Linked DNA regions of Homo sapiens: all the other regions are linked to region 5. The links are contacts of gene promoters, found by promoter capture Hi-C in human tissues and cell types (Jung and others, 2019). All regions are on one chromosome and are shown on one strand. Each heading gives the region's core, a stretch centred on a gene start or on the middle of the fragment in contact. The rest is flanking DNA. Distances are from core to core; before and after follow the strand shown.

The links. Contacts are between HindIII fragments. The study calls those that stand out against the background at their distance.
Region 1: a fragment that was not itself captured here is called in contact with the fragment with the promoter of CARD14 in region 5 in 4 of the 25 tissues and cell types used here (adrenal gland, bladder, mesendoderm cells and 1 more).
Region 2: a fragment that was not itself captured here is called in contact with the fragment with the promoter of CARD14 in region 5 in 1 of the 25 tissues and cell types used here (small bowel).
Region 3: a fragment that was not itself captured here is called in contact with the fragment with the promoter of CARD14 in region 5 in 1 of the 25 tissues and cell types used here (adrenal gland).
Region 4: a contact is called between a fragment that was not itself captured here and the fragment with the promoter of CARD14 in region 5, in 5 of the 25 tissues and cell types used here (H1 embryonic stem cells, lymphoblastoid cells, mesenchymal stem cells and 2 more).
Region 6: a fragment that was not itself captured here is called in contact with the fragment with the promoter of CARD14 in region 5 in 1 of the 25 tissues and cell types used here (mesendoderm cells).

The regions. Positions count from the first base shown.
Region 1 is chr17:80,421,864-80,424,958 of GRCh38, forward strand. ENDOV (endonuclease V) reads left to right here. Exons shown (of 10, transcript NM_173627.5): 3 at 1-99; 4 at 343-382; 5 at 1,657-1,769. Among named protein-coding and RNA genes, the nearest start is that of MIR4730, 4.0 kb to the left of the region's middle. RefSeq lists an enhancer at 3,090-3,095. The HindIII fragment of the contact is 8,908 bases long and covers 1-3,095 here.
Region 2 is chr17:80,360,921-80,363,667 of GRCh38, forward strand. It overlaps RNF213 (ring finger protein 213), which reads left to right. Exons shown (of 68, transcript NM_001256071.3): 39 at 814-968; 40 at 2,182-2,394; 41 at 2,689-2,747. All of the region lies in intron 1 of RNF213-AS1 (RNF213 antisense RNA 1), which reads right to left. Among named protein-coding and RNA genes, the nearest start is that of ENDOV, 53 kb to the right of the region's middle. The HindIII fragment of the contact is 6,097 bases long and covers 1-2,747 here.
Region 3 is chr17:80,018,578-80,021,644 of GRCh38, forward strand. The region is part of intron 1 of TBC1D16 (TBC1 domain family member 16); the gene reads right to left. Among named protein-coding and RNA genes, the nearest start is that of TBC1D16, 16 kb to the right of the region's middle. The HindIII fragment of the contact is 5,540 bases long and covers 1-3,067 here.
Region 4 is chr17:80,379,057-80,381,943 of GRCh38, forward strand. It overlaps RNF213 (ring finger protein 213), which reads left to right. Exons shown (of 68, transcript NM_001256071.3): 55 at 564-658; 56 at 1,775-1,931; 57 at 2,491-2,671. All of the region lies in intron 1 of RNF213-AS1 (RNF213 antisense RNA 1), which reads right to left. Among named protein-coding and RNA genes, the nearest start is that of ENDOV, 35 kb to the right of the region's middle. RefSeq lists an enhancer at 1,266-1,766. The HindIII fragment of the contact is 3,872 bases long and covers 1-2,887 here.
Region 5 is chr17:80,168,651-80,171,370 of GRCh38, forward strand. CARD14 (caspase recruitment domain family member 14) reads left to right here and starts at 1,380. Exons shown (of 24, transcript NM_001366385.1): 1 at 1,380-1,406. The HindIII fragment of the contact is 21,960 bases long and covers 1-2,720 here.
Region 6 is chr17:80,341,228-80,344,341 of GRCh38, forward strand. RNF213 (ring finger protein 213) reads left to right here. Exons shown (of 68, transcript NM_001256071.3): 27 at 1,905-2,098; 28 at 2,630-2,788. Among named protein-coding and RNA genes, the nearest start is that of ENDOV, 72 kb to the right of the region's middle. The HindIII fragment of the contact is 5,401 bases long and covers 1-3,114 here.

The DNA of each region.
Region 1 (3,095 bases), core at 245-2,744, 250 kb after region 5:
GCCCCCTACGTGTCGGGCTTCCTGGCCTTCCGAGAGGTGCCCTTCTTGCTGGAGCTGGTGCAGCAGCTGCGGGAGAAGGAGCCGGGCCTCATGCCCCAGGCAGGTGTCTCATCCCTAGGACGAGAGAAAGGTCCCTCCTTCCCCCTGGGGGAGGGAAGGCTGCTGCAGGTCGCCACCACCACAGTGGCAGGGAGAGACTCATGAGCTTCCTGGAAGAGAGGAATGAGGATTTCTAAAAAGCTGGACCCCAGAGACAGTGCCCCCTTCTTGCCTCAGGGATGGCCCTGTCCTGAGGGCCGAGGGGCAGCTCAGCTGACTGTGACTCTCCCTGTGGCTCCATAGGTCCTTCTTGTGGATGGAAACGGGGTACTCCACCACCGAGGTAATCCTGCTCTTGGAGGTCCAGGGAGGGCACTGTGGGGAAGAGCGGGGGGAGAGGGCACCTCTGTCGTCCCCCACAGAAAATGCTGGGCCCTCGGCCTCTGCCGCCAGCCCCCTCCAATGGCTTCTTTCTCGGCGCAACGGGGACGCGCAGTGCGCTCAGCCCCGCCTCCCCCACCGCCGGTAAAGGACTGTCTACTTTCGCTTCACCCCTTACCTCTTTCCTGTCCGCCACTGCCTTCTCTACAGTGCCCTGTGCTGGCTCATCTCCAGGTGCCACTATCCAGTTCTGACCTGATCACCAAAAGATGTCCCAGGGCCCGGGCTCAGAGTGGCCTTCCCTGCCAGCCGCCCAACCTGCATGGCCCGTCAGGCCCCTTGTCCACAACTAGACAGGTGTACCCAGGCCCCCACTGATGCCAGGAACCTTGGCCTAGGGAGCGTGGCTGAGGGAGATGGGCTCTTTTTTTTTTGAGACGGAGTCTCGCTCTGTCGCCCAGGCTGGAGTGCAGTGGCGCGATCTCGGCTCACTGCAACCTCCGCCTCCCGGGTTCATGCCACTCTCCTGCCTCAGCCTCCTGAGTAGCTGAGACTACAGGTGCCCATCACCACGCCCGGCTAATTTTTTTGTATTTTTAGGAGAGACGGGGTTTCACGTGTTAGCCAGGATGGTCTTGATCTCCTGACCTCGTGATCCGCCTGCCTCGGCCTCCCAAAGTGCTGGGATTTCAGGCGTGAGCCACCGCGCCCGGCCTAGGGAGATGGGCTCTTTTACTGTTACATACAGAGCTGCGGGCGGCGCAGCAGCACCCAGAGAGGGCCCAGGAGGGGTGACATTGGGCCTTCCTGGCCAGCAAGTGTGACTCGGCCCTGGCTGCTGCCCTCGCACATGGGTGCAGAGCCAAAGGGTTGTCATGTGCCGACCCACATGCTCGTGCCAGCGCTGGCAGGCCACCGTCGAGGGAAGAGGAAGCTGGGAGGTGCAGGAAATGACCGGAGAGCTGCAGTATCCCAGCACGCCAGCGAGGTGCTGACCCTGGCACTGACCGTGTCAGAGAGAAGGAGGCTTCCTCCACGGCCTTGCACCCAGGACATCGGGCACAGGGGGCTTTCGCCCAGGTCTGCTTGGGACTTAGATCTGGTTTCCCCAGCCCTCTGCCTGTCCACAGACCTCTGCTCACTTAGGGAAGCTTTTGGTAAGACTGGCTTGTCCTGAATCCCTGTGCCAGGCCCCAGCCCCACCTCCCCAACCCCACCCTCCTTTCTCTCTGGCAGGCTTTGGGGTGGCCTGCCACCTTGGCGTCCTTACAGACCTGCCGTGTGTTGGGGTGGCCAAGAAACTTCTGCAGGTGGATGGGCTGGAGAACAACGCCCTGCACAAGGAGAAGGTGAGGAGGGGCCTGCTGCAGGCCATGCCCGGCAGCTCAGTGGCGGGGCTGTGGTGGCCCTGGGCATGAGGACACTTCTGGACCAGCCCTTGCCTGCTGACGCTGCCCTCCTCATCCCTGGCTTGTGGCCTGGAGTAAGAAAGACCTGCTTTCCTCTGGGTGCTGCATTGCCTGTCTCAGCTGAGGGCGCTCTGAGCTCCTCTCCTGCCTCCTGGGTGTGCCTGCCTCTCTGGTCCCCCTTGCCTCTGAGCCACCGTGGCACACCAAGTAGGGCTAAGTCCTCCAGTTACTGGGGACAGGACGGGCTTCCAGGCTGTCCCGGGCGCACTTGGTGCTTTCCCCACCCCGCCTTGCCCCAGCCCCTGTCTCCTCCCCTGCATGCTCAGGTACCACAGCCTCCAGGCCCCCCTCCCGCCAAGACCTGCCTGGAGCTGCCACCCACACTCTTCCTACCTCACCTTCCCCTGCATCTTCCTCCTCTGGGACCCCATGTTGGCACTGGGAGTGAGACACTCACAATGGAGGGAGCTGTTGACACCCCCAGCTGTTTCACTGGATGGCAGATTCTGAGAGCAGAGACTGTGTCTCTCATTCCTCCTAGCTCTCAGGTGCCTGCATGGAGAAGTTGCTTAATAAAAATCTGTTGAGTTGATGGGGACCTTAGACCCACTCAATGAGCCAGTCCACCGCCGCCAGAAATACCAGCCTGTTGAGCTGTGTCAGATGTGCCCAAAGCAGGAGAGAAGCCACAGGAAGGAAGCGGGCTCAGCACCCATCACTGGGCAGTGGCGGCACCTGTGTGGCTGCCAGCCTGGCACAGCGGCCCTGGGCAGATTGTTGCCCTTGTTCTAAGCCCCATCATCAGGTTTGAACAGGGTCTTGTGGGCAGCACCCTCAGCTCAGGGACAAGACCACTTCACCGCCTGCACGCTCAGTGTCGTCTCAGGTGGTGTGGCTTTGCCTGGGCTGTGGCTCACCTCCAAGATCAGTCCCCTTCCCTTTCCTGGCCCAGTGACTGGGTTTTAAAAATAAAGAGACCTGGGCCGGTTGCGGTGGCTCACTCCTGTAATCCCAGCACTTTGGGAGGCCGAAGTGGGTGGATCACGCGATTAGGAGATCGAGACCATCCTGGCTAGCATGGTGAAACCCCATCTCTACTAAAAATACAAAAAATTAGCCGGGCGTGGTGGCACATGCCTGTAGTCCCAGCTACTCAGGAGGCTGAGGTGGGAGAATCGCTTGAACACGGGAGGCAGAGGTTGCAGTGAGCTGAGATCGCGCCACTGTACTTCAGCCTGGGCAACAGTGCGACACTCCGTCTCAAAA
Region 2 (2,747 bases), core at 41-2,540, 190 kb after region 5:
CAGGACAATACCCCAACTGACCCTGCTTTTCTATGACAGCATGCGAATTAGGGGCTGCACCCCGCCCACTAGAAGCCAGATCTTTCTGGCTTGCATGCTCTGTGACCCCCAGCCCCTGAAGAGCAGCCCACTTGTTCCTAATTTACTTGGACCCGGGGGTTCCTGAAGCATGCTGTGACCTGTAGCCATGCAACATACAATGTAGCCATGCAACATACAACTCAGTCTTATCTAGATGTTTCTCTTTGGGGCTAGCTTGGCTGTTTCTGACCTAAATTTGACACTGTTTCCGCCTTCCTTTATTTTATTCCACTGGAAAAATATCCTAGGCCAGGCGCAGTGGTTCACAACACCTTGGGAGGCCAAGGCCGGCAGATCACCTGAGGTCAGGAGTTCGAGACCAGCCTGACCAACATGGTGAAACCCCGTCTCTACTAAAAATACAAAAAATTAGCTGGGTGTGGTGGTGCATGCCTGTAGTCCCAGCTACTTGGTAGGCTGAGGCAGGAGAATCACTTGAACCTGGGAGGCGGAGGTTGCAGTGAGCAGAGATCACGCTACCCACCGCACTCCAGCCTGGGCAACAGAGTAAGACTCCATCTCCAAAAAAAAGGAAAAAGAAAAATATCCTAAATGTCTAGACAGTGACTATTCCTTCAATTCCCTACAAAATCAGGCAGTTGGTACCCCTTTGTCTACGAGCTCCCATTCAACAAGGCGTCCCCATTCCCCTTCACTCCGGAGCCCCCTGGAGGCAGGGGAGCGCCATGACTTAGACGCACTCCAGGCCGCTCCTTGGTTTCCTCTCTGCAGGACTGCCCAAGAAGTTCGTGGACATCTTTCAGCAGACTCCTCTGGGCAGGTTTCTTGCCCAGCTCCATGGAGAGCCGCAGCAGGAACTTCTTCAGTGTTACTTGAAGGATTTCATTCTCTTGACCATGCGTGTGTCAACGGAGGAGGAATTAAAGGTAGATGTTTAGATACTGGCTAAGGGTCAGGTGTAGAGCTTGCATGATGGGGACTGGATGCAGACACGGAGACGTTTCCTCAGCTGCCTGGAGCTGGTGCTGTGAAGTCTGGGAACAGAACATGGTCAGCGAAGGGTGCCGGTGGGTGAAGGGGTCGCCCAGTCTCCTCTCAATATTCAGTGCTACACCCTCAGTCCACCGCCCAGGGGCTCCTAAAACACGGAGCTTTCTGTGAACATGAGAAGACCTCCAATTTCCTTGACATAGCTTCTTTTTAAATGTTGAGTTTCTCTTGAAAAAAATTAAATACGTAACTAACCCTACAGGGTAAGAATAAACAAGTGAAATTCAATAGAAAGTCATACTTTTGACTACCTAAAAATTTTAAACTTCAGTACATAAAAAAGGAGAGTGACAAATTTAAGAACATCCTTACAGCTAATATGACTAGAGGTTAATATTCTTAGGAATCAATAAGAAAATACCCTAAGTTTTAAAAAATGGGTAAACGTTATAAAACAACAATTTTATAATCTCATTAAGCATATCAACATCCAGGAAACATTTGAAAAATTGCTTAGCCTTACTATTAATAGCAAATCAACACAACAGTTTTTAGATATCATGTTTACGTATTCATTTTGCAAAGCTGATTTTTAAAAACAACAGCCGCCGGCCAGTGCTGCAAAGAAATAGCCAGGCCACGCGGCTGACAGTGTAGCGTGCACAGTGGGCGCCCTGCAGGGCTGCGTGGCAGAACAGTTGAGCACCTTATCCGATCTGAACTGCTGACTCTGTCCTGAGGAAACTACTGGAGATGTGGACAAATATTTGGTTCACAGGGATGTCCTTTTCAGCTTTGCTTCGAAAAATAAGAAATAGTTTAATTGTCCGGAAATACAGGATGGGCAAATTAAAGTATGGCCGTATGATGGGTTATTGAGCAGCCATTAAAACCATGTTTTTCAAGTATACTCAGTCATAGGGAAAGTTCATGATGTCATGTTCAGTGGCAAAAAGCCCAGACGACACGGTGACCTTAACGTGGGAGGAGAGGCAGATAGAAAACTGGACAGAAGCAAACGGGACAGAATAGCACACATGGTTTCTAATTTCCTCTTTTATGGTTTTCCAATAGTTCGGATTTCCCACGGGGAAAACATACCATTTTTGTAATTTAAAAATATATTCTAAAAGCTTTTTTGAATCCCAGTTTCTGCAGATGGCTCTGTGGTCCTGCACTAGGAAACTGAAAGCGGCGTCAGAAGCGCCCGAGGAAGAGGTTTCCTTACCGTGGGTGCACCTTGCCTACCAGCGTTTCAGAAGCCGTCTGCAGAACTTTTCCAGAATCCTGACCATCTACCCTCAGGTTCTCCACAGCCTGATGGAAGCCCGTTGGAACCATGAGCTGGCTGGATGTGAGATGGTATGGCCCTCCTCCGCCTGCCCTGAGCAAGCCTTGTGGTGCTTCCAACTCCACTCTGGGAATGGAGAGCTTCTGGGGCTGTGTTCCAAGTGGGAGATTTCTTCACAAGGCACATACCTTAGCTGAATTCAGAGATGTTAAGGACACATCTCGCTGACGCTTCTCACATCCTAGACAATGAAAGTTTAGGTCGCAAGCCTGGGACACAAGTATACATGCAGCTAACAGCCGGGGCCTCTGGTGGGCCGGTGGGAGGGGCACCGCTCAGCCACGCCCTGCTGTCCGTCTCCCCAGACCCTGGACGCATTTGCCGCAATGGCCTGCACGGAGATGCTGACAAGAAACACCCTGAA
Region 3 (3,067 bases), core at 253-2,752, 150 kb before region 5:
AGCCTGAAAAAATTATTAATGAAATCTTTTACATTCTTTTTTTTTTTTTAGAGACAGGTTGTCACCCAGGCTAGAGTGCAGTGGTGTGATCACAGCTCACTGTATTCTGAAACTCCTGGGCTCAAGGAATCCTCCTGCCCAGTCTCCCAAATAGCCTGGACTAAAGGCACATGCCACCAGGTCCCGCTAATTTTTTTATTTTTTGTAGAGATGAGGTTTCACTTTTTTGCCCAGGCTGGTCTTGAACTTCTGGCCTCAAGTGATCCTCCTGCCTCAGCCTTCCAAAGTGTTAGGATTACAGGCGGGAGCCACCGCACCTGGCCTATTTTATGTCCTTAAAGTCTCCAAAGTCTGCTGTGCATTTTGCACTTAAGCACGTCAAAGTTCTGCTCAGCCACGTTTTGGGTGCTCTGTAGCCTGCGCGGTGTCCACACTGGACAAGGCCGCAGCGGGGCTGGAGCCCACCTCCTTCTGTGTTTCAAATGGCTCTACTCAGTGTGATCGCTCCAGTTGCCAGAGCTGGCTGCACACAGCTCTCAGCTGCTTCCCCAAATCAAAACCCTCTTTAAGTGAAAATGTTTTGCCAGCACTGAGGATAATCAAAAGAATGTGCTGGAAGCTTTAAAGGAGATTCCGAAATACAAGTGTTCAAAATACAGCATTTTCTCCCATACCATGACAGGCAGAACCTCACTGTGGCTCTGCGAGGTGCGTCCCAACAGTGCAGCTTTACGGAGGAGAAGACAGGTTCTGACCACTCAGGGTCATTTCGTGAGCGGGAAACCCTGCAGCGTGAGACCTTCGTCCCCCACGTGCAGAACTCCGGCTCCTCCATCACCCGCCACCTGGGACACCAGGACAACCCCCCCCCGCCCCTCCCAGATTGTTCTGGAGAGACTGGGCTCTTTTTGGAGAAATGGAGCATGTCTATTAAACATTAGACAGGACTGTTTGCTCTCTAAAAACAATTCTCCTTATTTGTAAAGTGCATTTGCTGTTTCGCAAGAGGCTATTTCATCGAAATCCAACCTAGTTCCCAACCTCTGGTCACCAGCAAACTAGAAGTGGAGAATCCTTGGCCCATTTTTTAAAACTTTTTTTTAGTTATGAAACACACTCAGAGAAGGAAAAGGAAGAATACGTGTCCCTTAAATCACATAATCCTAAGACATTTATGTATTCTCTACTATATTTTGTGCCCTATAATGAATGAGTTAATGAAAAACCCACTCCTTGGAATTATATCATATCTTGCTTTCAGTTGGATCATAAATATATTTTCCCAGGTGAAGTATACTTATGATATAACAAACTTTAGGGTTGAAGTACATCCCCTAAAATTCCTGTGTTGAAGTCTTAAACCCCAGTACCCAAGAATGAAACTGTTTTTGAAGACAGCATCTTTATAGAGGTGATCAAGTTACCTTGAGGTCAATATGACTGGTGTCTTTATAAAAAGAGGAAGTTGGTAGCAGGTGCCTATATACAAGGAGAGTGCTGTGTGAATACAATGATGCCACCTACCAGCAAGGAGCAGGCCTGGAGCAGCCCCTCCCTCACAGCCTCCTAAGGAAACAATCCTGCCGACACCTTGATCTTAGACTTCCTGCCTCCAGGGCTGTCAGAGAGATTTCTATTGCTCAAGCCACCTGGACCCTGGTACTTTGTTAGGGCAGCCCTAGCAAACAAATATACCACATTATTAACACATTTAAAAAGTATAAGGCCAGGTGTGGTGGCTCACGCCTGTAATCCCAGCACTTTGGAAGACTGAGGCGGGCGGATCACCTGAGATCAGGAGTTCAAGACCAGCCTGGCCAACATGGTGAAATCCTGTCTCTACTAAAAAATACAAAAATTAGCCAAGCGTAGGGGCGGGTGCCTGTAGTCCCAGCTACTCAGGAGGCTGAGGCAGGAGAACTGCTTGTACTCAGGAGGTGGAGGTTGCAGTGAGCTGAGATGGCGCCACTGCACTCCAGCCTGGGAGACAGAGCGAGACTCCATCTCAAAACAAATAAATAAATAAAAATAAAAATTATAAATGCCAACCCTCCATCTTCATAGAATCAGCCGCCATTGCTAGGCATCTGGCTTCCAACTAGTGGCTACTGAAATAATAAACTCCACATTTTAATACATAAATCTTCATCTGTATCCTCATTATTTCCAGGATTACTGTTTCCCCAGGAGGATAAACTGGACCCCAACTCGTATTGCCCAGTGGGTTCCCCGAAATGTAAGAGTGCTGCCAGGGATTTAAATCTCCACCAGGCTGGGAACTGAAAAATGGTTTTCTGACTGGGCACAGTGGTTCACACTTGTAATTCCAACAATTTGGGAGGCTGACGTGGGAGGATTGCTCAAGCCCAGGAGCTCAAAACCAGCCTGGGCAGGGCCGGGCACGGTGGCTCACGCCTGTAATCCCAGCACTTTGGGAGGCCAAGGCGGGTGGATCACCTGAGGTCGGGAGTTCGACACCAGCCTGACCAACATGGAGAAACCCCGTGTCTACTAAAAATACAAAATTAGACAGGCATGGTGGTGCATGCCTGTAATCCCAGCTACTCGGGAGGCTGAAGCATGAGAATCGCTTGAACTCAGGTGGTGGAGGTTGCAGTGAGCCGAGATCGTGCCATTGCACTCCAGCCTGGAAACAAGAGTGAAACTCCATCTCAAAAAACAAAAACAAACAAACAAACCAGCCTGGGCAACATAACAAGATCCCACTTCTAAAAAATTAGCTGGGGGTGGTGGTGTGTGCCTGTAATCCCAGCTACTCGGGAGGCTAAGGTGGATCACTTGAGCCCAGGACGTCGAGGCTGCATTGAGCCATGATTGCACCACTGCACCCCACCCTGGGTGACAGATTATCCTATATTTATTAGACATTTGTGTTCACTTGTGAATTATCTGTTGGTGTGCTTTGACAATTTTTCTGCTGGCGTGGTGGAATTCTTATTATTTTTAATACAGAGATTAAGCTGAGATGGAATTTTCATTGATATGTAAGAACTCTTTATATAGTAAAGATCACTACATACACACCATAGACACACACCATAGATAC
Region 4 (2,887 bases), core at 123-2,622, 210 kb after region 5:
GCGTGCATGCGTGTGGTCCCAGCTACTTGGGAGGCTAAGGTAGGAGGATTGCTTGAGCCTGGGGAGGTCAAGGCTGTAGTGAGCCGTGATGGTGCCACTGCACTCCAGCCTGGAGGACAGAGCGAGGCTCTGTCTCATAAAAATTGATATATGAAAAAGTCCAAATGAATATAAGGAAGTCAGTTTGGAAGCTCTTCTAGTATTCTTGGTATTAGATCATGAAGTGCCACAGGCTAGTGTGATAGATGGAGGGATGGAAAAAGTGCTGAATACAAGAAAGGAAGGTTGAATTTTATATATTTGTCTATAAAGTGTCACTCTGGGAATAAAGCTTAAATTGTCTCACTTATTTAAAAAACAGTTCCAGTTTGCCCACGTGCAACATTAGTGAGTACCTACCCTGTTCCCATGGGTTCTCCACCCACCCGAAACAAGCACACACTGGGACAATCTGAGGGTGCTCACGTCTGCCGGTGATAAGGAGGTGTTCATTTGCATGATGGCATTTGTGCATAAAATGGTACTGCTCCAGAAGTGGTTCTAGTGCCCTGTCTTCACCCTAGTGTGGCAGGCCGATGGAACAGAGCATCTGCATTGACTGCCATGCGCCGATTGGAGGCATTGACCACAAACCTCGGGACGGCTTTCATCTGGTCAAGTATGTGGGTCAGGATTCTATTTCCTAAGTACTCAAACTTTGGGGTGTTGGGCTGTTTTTATTCCAGCTGATAAAGTGATACTCAAGATAGTACTAATTACTCCAGTACATGTGGGCCTGTGTCATATTGAATAGCAATGCCAAAGTCCCAGCAGTCACACAGCAGGGAGGCATCTGATCTGTTGTTGGATCCCTGGGCCCTGAAATGCAAAGCAGGCTACCCTTTAACAGCTGTTAATATGAATACAGGTGTCTTCCTTTTGGGCCTTGGGTGCACCTTCTGTAGAAATATGCATGACATAAACAGATGATCTAATTCACGAGGACATCTATGTCTGCAGGACCAAAACCTGGGCATCCGTCTGTCTCAGCAGATGCCATCTCACTTGCCAGCAATCTTAGCTTTCTCCATTTTTTATTTTTTGAGAAAAATGAAGGAGACAGACATAGTCTTATGAAATACCAGACTTCAGAATCCAGGTACAAATCCGATCCCACAATCCCATGCTGAGATGAATGTGGTTCTAAATGCTCCTTTCAGAGAGTGAGTGGGACCTGCGTGGGGGCCTCACATTCTGACTGTTCCCTGCAGTCACAGCTTAAAATACTTTCATGTTATCTCCAGAAACTGTCACAGTGTCCTCCATCCTCTAATAGTTTTGCCACTGAGAGCATCGGCCACACTGCATCTCCTCTCTGCCGGACTTTAGATCCCGGTTTTTCCTTTGGGGAGATGAGAACAATATGGACACCCATGGGATGCCGACTGTCCTCCCAAACTCTAGCTGTTCTTAGCCCAACCGCTCCTCTCCTGACAAAGACTTCAGTGGAAAAGACGGGTCCAGGCCTGCGTCTTAACACCCTGCCCGGGGATCAGCATCAATACCACACAGCGCAGCCACCTGACGCTGAGAATGCGGTCGGGTCTGGTCCACCGGAAAGGCGAGTCTATCATGAGAGAGACTCTTAGGAACATGGTCCAGGCTTTGTGGAACAGCAAGTACTCTTCACATAACTCTCTTCTCAGCCGTAAGCCTCACTCCAAGTGCTGAGAAAGTGCAGCGTGCCAAAGCGGCCAGCCTCAGCCTCTGTCTTGTGTTCTCTCGTTCTTTCCAGAGACAAGGCAGACAGAACGCAGACCGGCCACGTGCTGGGCAACCCGCAGCGGAGAGACGTGGTGACATGTGACCGAGGGCTGCCCCCAGTGGTCTTCCTCCTTATCCGGCTACTCACTCACTTGGCTCTGCTTCTGGGAGCGTCCCAGAGTTCCCAGGTATAACCCAGTGCTGCCAAACAATGGGCTCAGTTAAGAACCTGCTTTCGCTTCTTCCCAGGGAGTCCTTTTGTCTTGAGTCCTAGCTGCCATCTATGCGTTTTGGAGATAATTAGTCTACAAAGTAATATACAAGTTATACATCTTCATGTTTCCCCCTGTGGCGTATGATGGTATGGGGGGAACTACTCCCCAGATTATACAGAATCCACTTCAAATTAACACTCTGTGTCTCTGGTCCACATCTGGGAGTAGAGAGGCTGACATCTTCATTATTTTACCTGTGTCTTCATTGTAGCTAGGGAAGAAAGAGCACACTGCATAACCAAGATGGCCAACAGTACAATCTGGATATTCTTTATCTCACTGTAACAACAGAAAAGCCAGCAGCCGTTCCGCTTGCTAGCCTTCCTTTCACCTGGATCACTCCGCCGTTTTCATCTTAGAAACCGCCTTCCGACTCTATGCTGGTGCTCCACTCCCAATGGCCTCTACCAGGCTCACCATCTTCTCTACAAACCAGATCCCCGCTGAACACTCTGTTCCGTTGCCCCCACAGGCTCTGATAAACATCATTAAGCCTCCAGTGAGGGATCCAAAAGGCTTTCTGCAGCAGCACATCCTGAAGGACCTGGAGCAGTTGGCCAAGATGCTGGGACACAGTGCCGACGAGACCATCGGCGTGGTCCACCTCGTCCTGCGCAGGCTTCTCCAAGAGCAGCACCAGCTCTCTAGCAGAAGTGAGGAAAGGGGCAAGGGCTGGGCGGGGATCACACAGCACAACGGCAGCGCAAGCAGGCTCGCTGTCTTGTGGGCCACCCCACACACAGCCAGTCTGAGCTCTGTCTGTGCTGTTGCTGGAAAGAATGAGAGAACACACAGAGAGAAAACCGTGTCTAGGGAAGGCGATGCCTGGGGCTGGAAAAAGGAAGCACTCTGCTTGCCCAGAGGCTGGA
Region 5 (2,720 bases), core at 130-2,629:
CTGCCTGAGGGGAAGCTGACACCCAGTGGGGCTGTAACCCTGGTTGGAGAGTTCATGTCTGCACCTGGCCTCGGCCTGCGTTCTCACTTGCTCTGCCCAACTGGCTGTGCCTTCAGCCGGCTCATCACCAGGAGATTTGGGTTGGAGCTACTGCTCAGCCACCATGAGCTACATGACCTTGAAGGCCGATCTTTGATTGTCCGCAGGATAATCCTGAAGGTTCTCAGGCCATGGACCTGTGAATTTCCCTTCTTTCAGTGTCTGCATCATTGGGAACCAAGCCCCTAACCAATGTTTATTCATTCGCTCAACCAATATTTGTGGAATATCACAGCCCTAGGGGTGGGGACACAGCAGGGAACAAGAAAGACAAGAATTATTGTCCTCAGTAGGTTACTGTGGAGTGGGGAGGCTGGCAGGAAGCCACGTAACTAGAATACACGTTAGGTCAAGGCAGTATTCCCACAGAGAAGATGGAACAGGGAAGGGGAGTGAAGGCCAGGATGGGAGGTCTACGGACTTAAGTAGGATGATCTGGGAAGTAGCATTTGAGTAGAGTCTGGAAGGAGGGATGGGAAAGAGTGTTCCAGGCAGTGGGAACAGCAGGTGCAAAGGCCCTGGGGCAGAAGTGTGCCTGGACTGTCAAGACTGTTGGGCTGTGTGTCTGGAGCAGGTAAAAGAGAGATAAGGTCAGCAAGGACCTGATAAGCAGAGCCTCATGGTCACGCTGAGGACTCCAGGACCTGTACACCGAAGGGAATGACAGGAGCTGACTCATGCCCTAGCAGGACTTCTCTGTCTGCTGTGTTGAGCGCTGGTGATGGGGGCGTGGGAAGAAGTTAGGAGCCATTACAGAGGTCCCGGTGGGCCATGATCAGGACACCACAATGCAGGTGGTGAGAATGGATCGGATTCTAGACATATCTCAAGGTGGAGGACCAAGACTTTCATCTAAATCTAAACAATAGTTATGAAATGTTAACTTGAGATGGATCTATTGGAATTATTCAGATACTTCCAATAATGGATCATGAGAACCAAGAAAGGCCCTAGAATTTATCCTGATCTTCGTAGGATTTTCCCAAGGGTAGAAATGATGATGAACTGGGTGACCGTTCACAAAGGAGAGAGGATTCCCAGCCCCCAAGCCTGAAGCCTTCCCCTCAATCACCCTCAATCACCATCTTCTGTGGGTCGACCAGATGCACGGACTGTTCTCAGCCATCCCTGTGGTTCTTACGGCAATGTCTAGCTGTGGGACTGCACTGGTGCTTCGATGGCTCATAGAAGCCCCATATAAGGCACTGCTCCTGTGGGATGTGCCTGTCAAACCTGCTTGTCCACTGCCGTTCAGTTCAGCCAGAGATTGGGCCACATTCAGTCCTCGCTTCCCTGGGAGGGGGAAGGTAAGTGCGCGCAGTCCATCCGGCGAAGAGCAGGTCAGCCTACGGAGGGCTCAGCCTACGGAGGGGCTCAGCCGACACAGGTCTGATGGGGCCCGAGAGTGGTCCCAGGGGAGTGGGAGGGGCCGGCATCTTCCTCATCAGGAGTGGAGGAGCTGCCTTGTATGTGGACTAGAGAACAGAAAACGGCTTGTCTGTGTTGCTGGGTCAATCACTGGAACATTCTCTGAATGCTGAGTTCTGCCTTAAAACAGCATGGGTCATGCTAGATGAAAGGGATCTCTGTTTTATACTCTCATCTCTTCGCTATTGCCGTGGGATGAAAGACAGCAGAAGGAAGGTGTCTAAGTTCAGAACAAAGTGAGCAAGACCAGCTGGCTGCTGTTGGTAGCAGAGGCACAGCCAGCCTGTCATGGCACTGGGGGGCCGAGGTGAGCTGTGCCCCCTCCTCCTGGGCTTGTGACCCTCTGCCCCCCATGGGGTATGTACATGTGTGTGTGTGCGTGTGCGTGTGTGTATGTGTACATGCCTTCTTCCCTACTTCACTGGCAAGGGAAGAGACTGACACTTGGGTTAGGAGAAGGATGTTGACCTGGGAGGGGTCAAATAAGGAGAACCCACATCTTAGATGCTCAGGATTTTATGATCTTAGGCTCTTCTAGAATTGCTGTACAGTTAGATTCAGAGTTTGGAATTAGAGATCTCTGGGCCCTCCCCTCCCCTCCCGTCCCCTCCCCTCCCGTCCCCTCCCCTCCTCTCCCCTCCCCTCCTCTCCCCTCTCCTCCCCTCCCCTCTTCTCTCCTTTTTCAGAAGTCTCCCTCTGTCGCCCAGGCTAGAGTTGCAGTGGCACAATCTCGGCTCACTGCAATTTCTGCCTCCTGGGTTCAGGTGATTCTCCTGCCTCAGTCTCCCAAGTAGCTGGGACTATAGGTGCACGCCACCACACCTGGTTAATTTTTTTATTTTTAGTAGAGACAGGGTTTTGTCACGTTGGCTAGGCTGGTCTCAAACTCCTGACTTCAGGTAATCCGCCCATCTTGGTCTCCCAAAGTGCTGGGATTACGGGCGTGAGCCACGGCTCCTGGCGCCTTCCCATTCACCTTCCCCTTCCCCTCCCCTTCCTCCCTCCCTCCCTCCCTCCCTCCCTCCCTCCCTTCCTTCCTTCCTTCCTTCCTTCCTTCCTTCCTTCCTTCTCTCTCTCCTTCCCTTCCTTCCTCTCTCTTTCTTTTCTTCTTTTCTTTCTTTCTTTCTCTCTCTCTCTCTTTCTTTCTTTTCCTTTTTTTGAGCCAGGGTCTTGCTCTGTCACCCAGGCTGGAG
Region 6 (3,114 bases), core at 203-2,702, 170 kb after region 5:
CACGCCCGGCCTGAAGTTTACTTCTTCTGCCCTTAAATGCCACTGGCCTCTTTGGGGTTGATGTTGGTCGTGTGAGCAAGGGGAGGTAGAATTGAAGAGAAAGCCATGCCTCTTGACCCACCCTTCGTTTGCCATCTTGTTTCCCTTAAAAAGAAATAGTAGCTTCTGTTCTGTTGACTTTATCCTATCAACAGTACCTCGTCCTGTTGGGATAAACATTACTCTTCCCCTCCCTGCTGAAGCCTCTCCTTTTGCTGTGACTTTTATTAGCTAGTCACTCAACACATAATGACATTTCAGTCAACAGCAGACCACGTATATGACCACGGTCCCATAAGATTAGAAAACTGTACTTTAAAAATTAGCCAGGCATGGTGGTGCATGCCTGTGATCCCAGCTACTAGGAAGGCTGACTTGGGAGGATCGCTCCAGCCCAAGAGGTCGAGGCTGTGGTGAGCTGCAAATACGACACTGCACTCCAGCCTAGGCAACGGGGCAAGGCCTTGGTCTTTTAAAAAAAGAGAAAGAAAGAAAGAACAAAAGATTATAATACCATATTTTTTACTGTACCTTTTCTACATTTTTATTTTTATTTTTGAGATGGAGTCTCACTCTGTTGCCCAGGCTGGAGTGCAATGGCACGATCTCGGCTCACTGCAGCCTCTGCCTCCTGGGTTCAAGCGATTCTCCTGCCTCAGCCTCCTGAGTAGCTGGGACTACAGGCACACGCCACCACACCTGACTAGTTTTTAGTAGAGATGGGGTTTCACCATGTTGGCCAGGCTGGTCTCAAACTCCTGACCTTGAGTGATCACCCGCCTCAGCCTCCCAAAGTGCTGGGATTACAGGCCTGAGCCACCGTGCCTGGCCTGAATATGTTTAGATATTCAGATATTTGCCCCGTGTCACAGCTCCCCACTGTATGTAGGATGCCCCCATGCTGTCACGGCTTGCAGCCCAGGGGCAATGGGCTATTCCACCTAGCTCGGGTGTGTGGTCGGCTCTACCATCTGGGTTTCTGCAGGCACACTCTGATGTTCACAGTGACAGAATCATTTCACAATGCATTTTTCAGAACGTGTCCCTAGTGCTAAGTGGCGCGGGACTCTGCTTTGCCTGCTGTCCTGCGGAGGCAGGAGGTGACCAGGAGAGTGAGTAGGTAACGGCTGGGAAATGTGAAGGTTCAAGAGCGTATTCTTGAATCTGATGTTATGTTGCATCAGTTTTGAATTTTATACAAAGAGAAGTAACTTCTAGTGGATCTTTATAGATTCTCTTACTCTTTGTCCTAGCCCTGGGACTTAATTTTTCTCTCTCTCTCTCTCTCTATTTTTATATATATACACACACATGCTGTATATACATACACTATATATATTCGATACATATTCTATATAGATTTCTATATATATTCTATATATTTTTACATATATAATATATATTCTATATACTTCCATATATACTATATATATTCTATATATACATATATAGTATGTATATATATATTATATATATATTGTATGTATATATATATTATATATATATATTTTTTGAGACAGAGTTTCGCTCTGTCACCCTAACGATGACAACTGCACCCTAAGGGATGTCTTAAGGGATGCCCAGGCTGGAGTGTAGTGGTGCAATCTCAGCTCACTACAACCTCCGCCTCCCGGGTTCAAGCGATTCTCCTGCCTCAGCCTCCTGAGTAGCTGGGATTACAGGTGCCTGCCACCACGCCTGGCTAATTTTTTTGTATTTTTAGTAGGGACGGGATTTCACCACGTTGACCAGGCTGGCTTTGAACTCCTGACCTCAAGTGATCCCCCCGCCTCGGCCTCCCAAAGTGCTAGGATTACAGGTGTGAGCCACCACTCCCAGCCCTAATTTCTGTATTAATGTTATAGGAAAGTCTCTGTACGTGAAGAGGTTGCACGACAAAATGAAGATGCAGTTAAACGTGAAAAATGTGCCTCTGAAAACAATTCGACTGATCGACCCTCAGGTGGATGAGAGCCGAGTCCTGGGCGCCCTGCTGCCCTTCCTGGATGCGCAGTATCAGAAGGTCCCCGTGCTCTTTCACCTGGACGTGACCTCCTCAGTAAGTGCCCTCCAGCGTCAGCCGATGGCCACATCAGTAAAGACGTGGTCCCCATGTCTCTGCGTGACTCCTCCCCGTGTATAGAATTCCTTGTTTCCACACGCACAGTCCTGTGAAGCTTAACAGTGGGAATGTGCTCTGAGAAGTGTGTTGTCAGGCAGTTTCCTCCTTGTGTGAACGTCATGGTGTGCGCTTACACTAACCTAGACGTAGAGCCCACTGCACACACAGGCTTTATGGTACACACTGTCGCTCCTAGGCCGCAAACCTGTGCTGCATATGGCTGTTCTGAATCCTGGAGCCAATTGTAAAACGGTGTATTTATGTGTCTAAACATAAAAATGGTACAGGGAAATATAGTATTAGGATTTTATGGGGCTGCCCTTGGAGACATGGGCCGTTGTTGGCTGAAATGTTGATGTTGATCATCAGGATCATCGTGACAAAGAGCAAAATAAGGAGGGGTTACTTAGAGTTGGGAGAACTCGCCATCGTGTCGTGTGTTTACACCTCGTGCGATTCTGTTCTTAGGTGCAGACTGGAATTTGGGTGTTTCTTTTCAAGCTCCTCATTTTACAATACTTAATGGATATAAATGGGAAAATGTGGCTTCGGAACCCCTGCCATTTGTATATCGTTGAAATCCTGGAAAGGAGGACGTCAGTGCCGTCGAGGAGCTCTTCAGCGCTGGTCTGTACTGTGGGGCGTTTTCGCCTGGCGTGGGGGGCTCTTGGGTTCTTTCTGGTCTTACTGAAGTGGAATGGCGCGTTTAGGAGACTCCACATCTTTGCCTTACTTAGTGCAGCAGCTGAATGCAGTGTTAGTAAAGAAAAGCCCATCTTTAAACTCACTTTTTAATCATGTCTGGGATAAAAGTACTCTTCTGTTAATTAGCAGTGTCTTCAATATTTCTGTTCAATTCAGGCTTCATGCTGTATGCCCAGTCTGAATCCCAGCTGTGCTCTGAATCTAGGAAATTCATCTGTTGAAAGACCTCACCTTTCCTAATGCCAGCT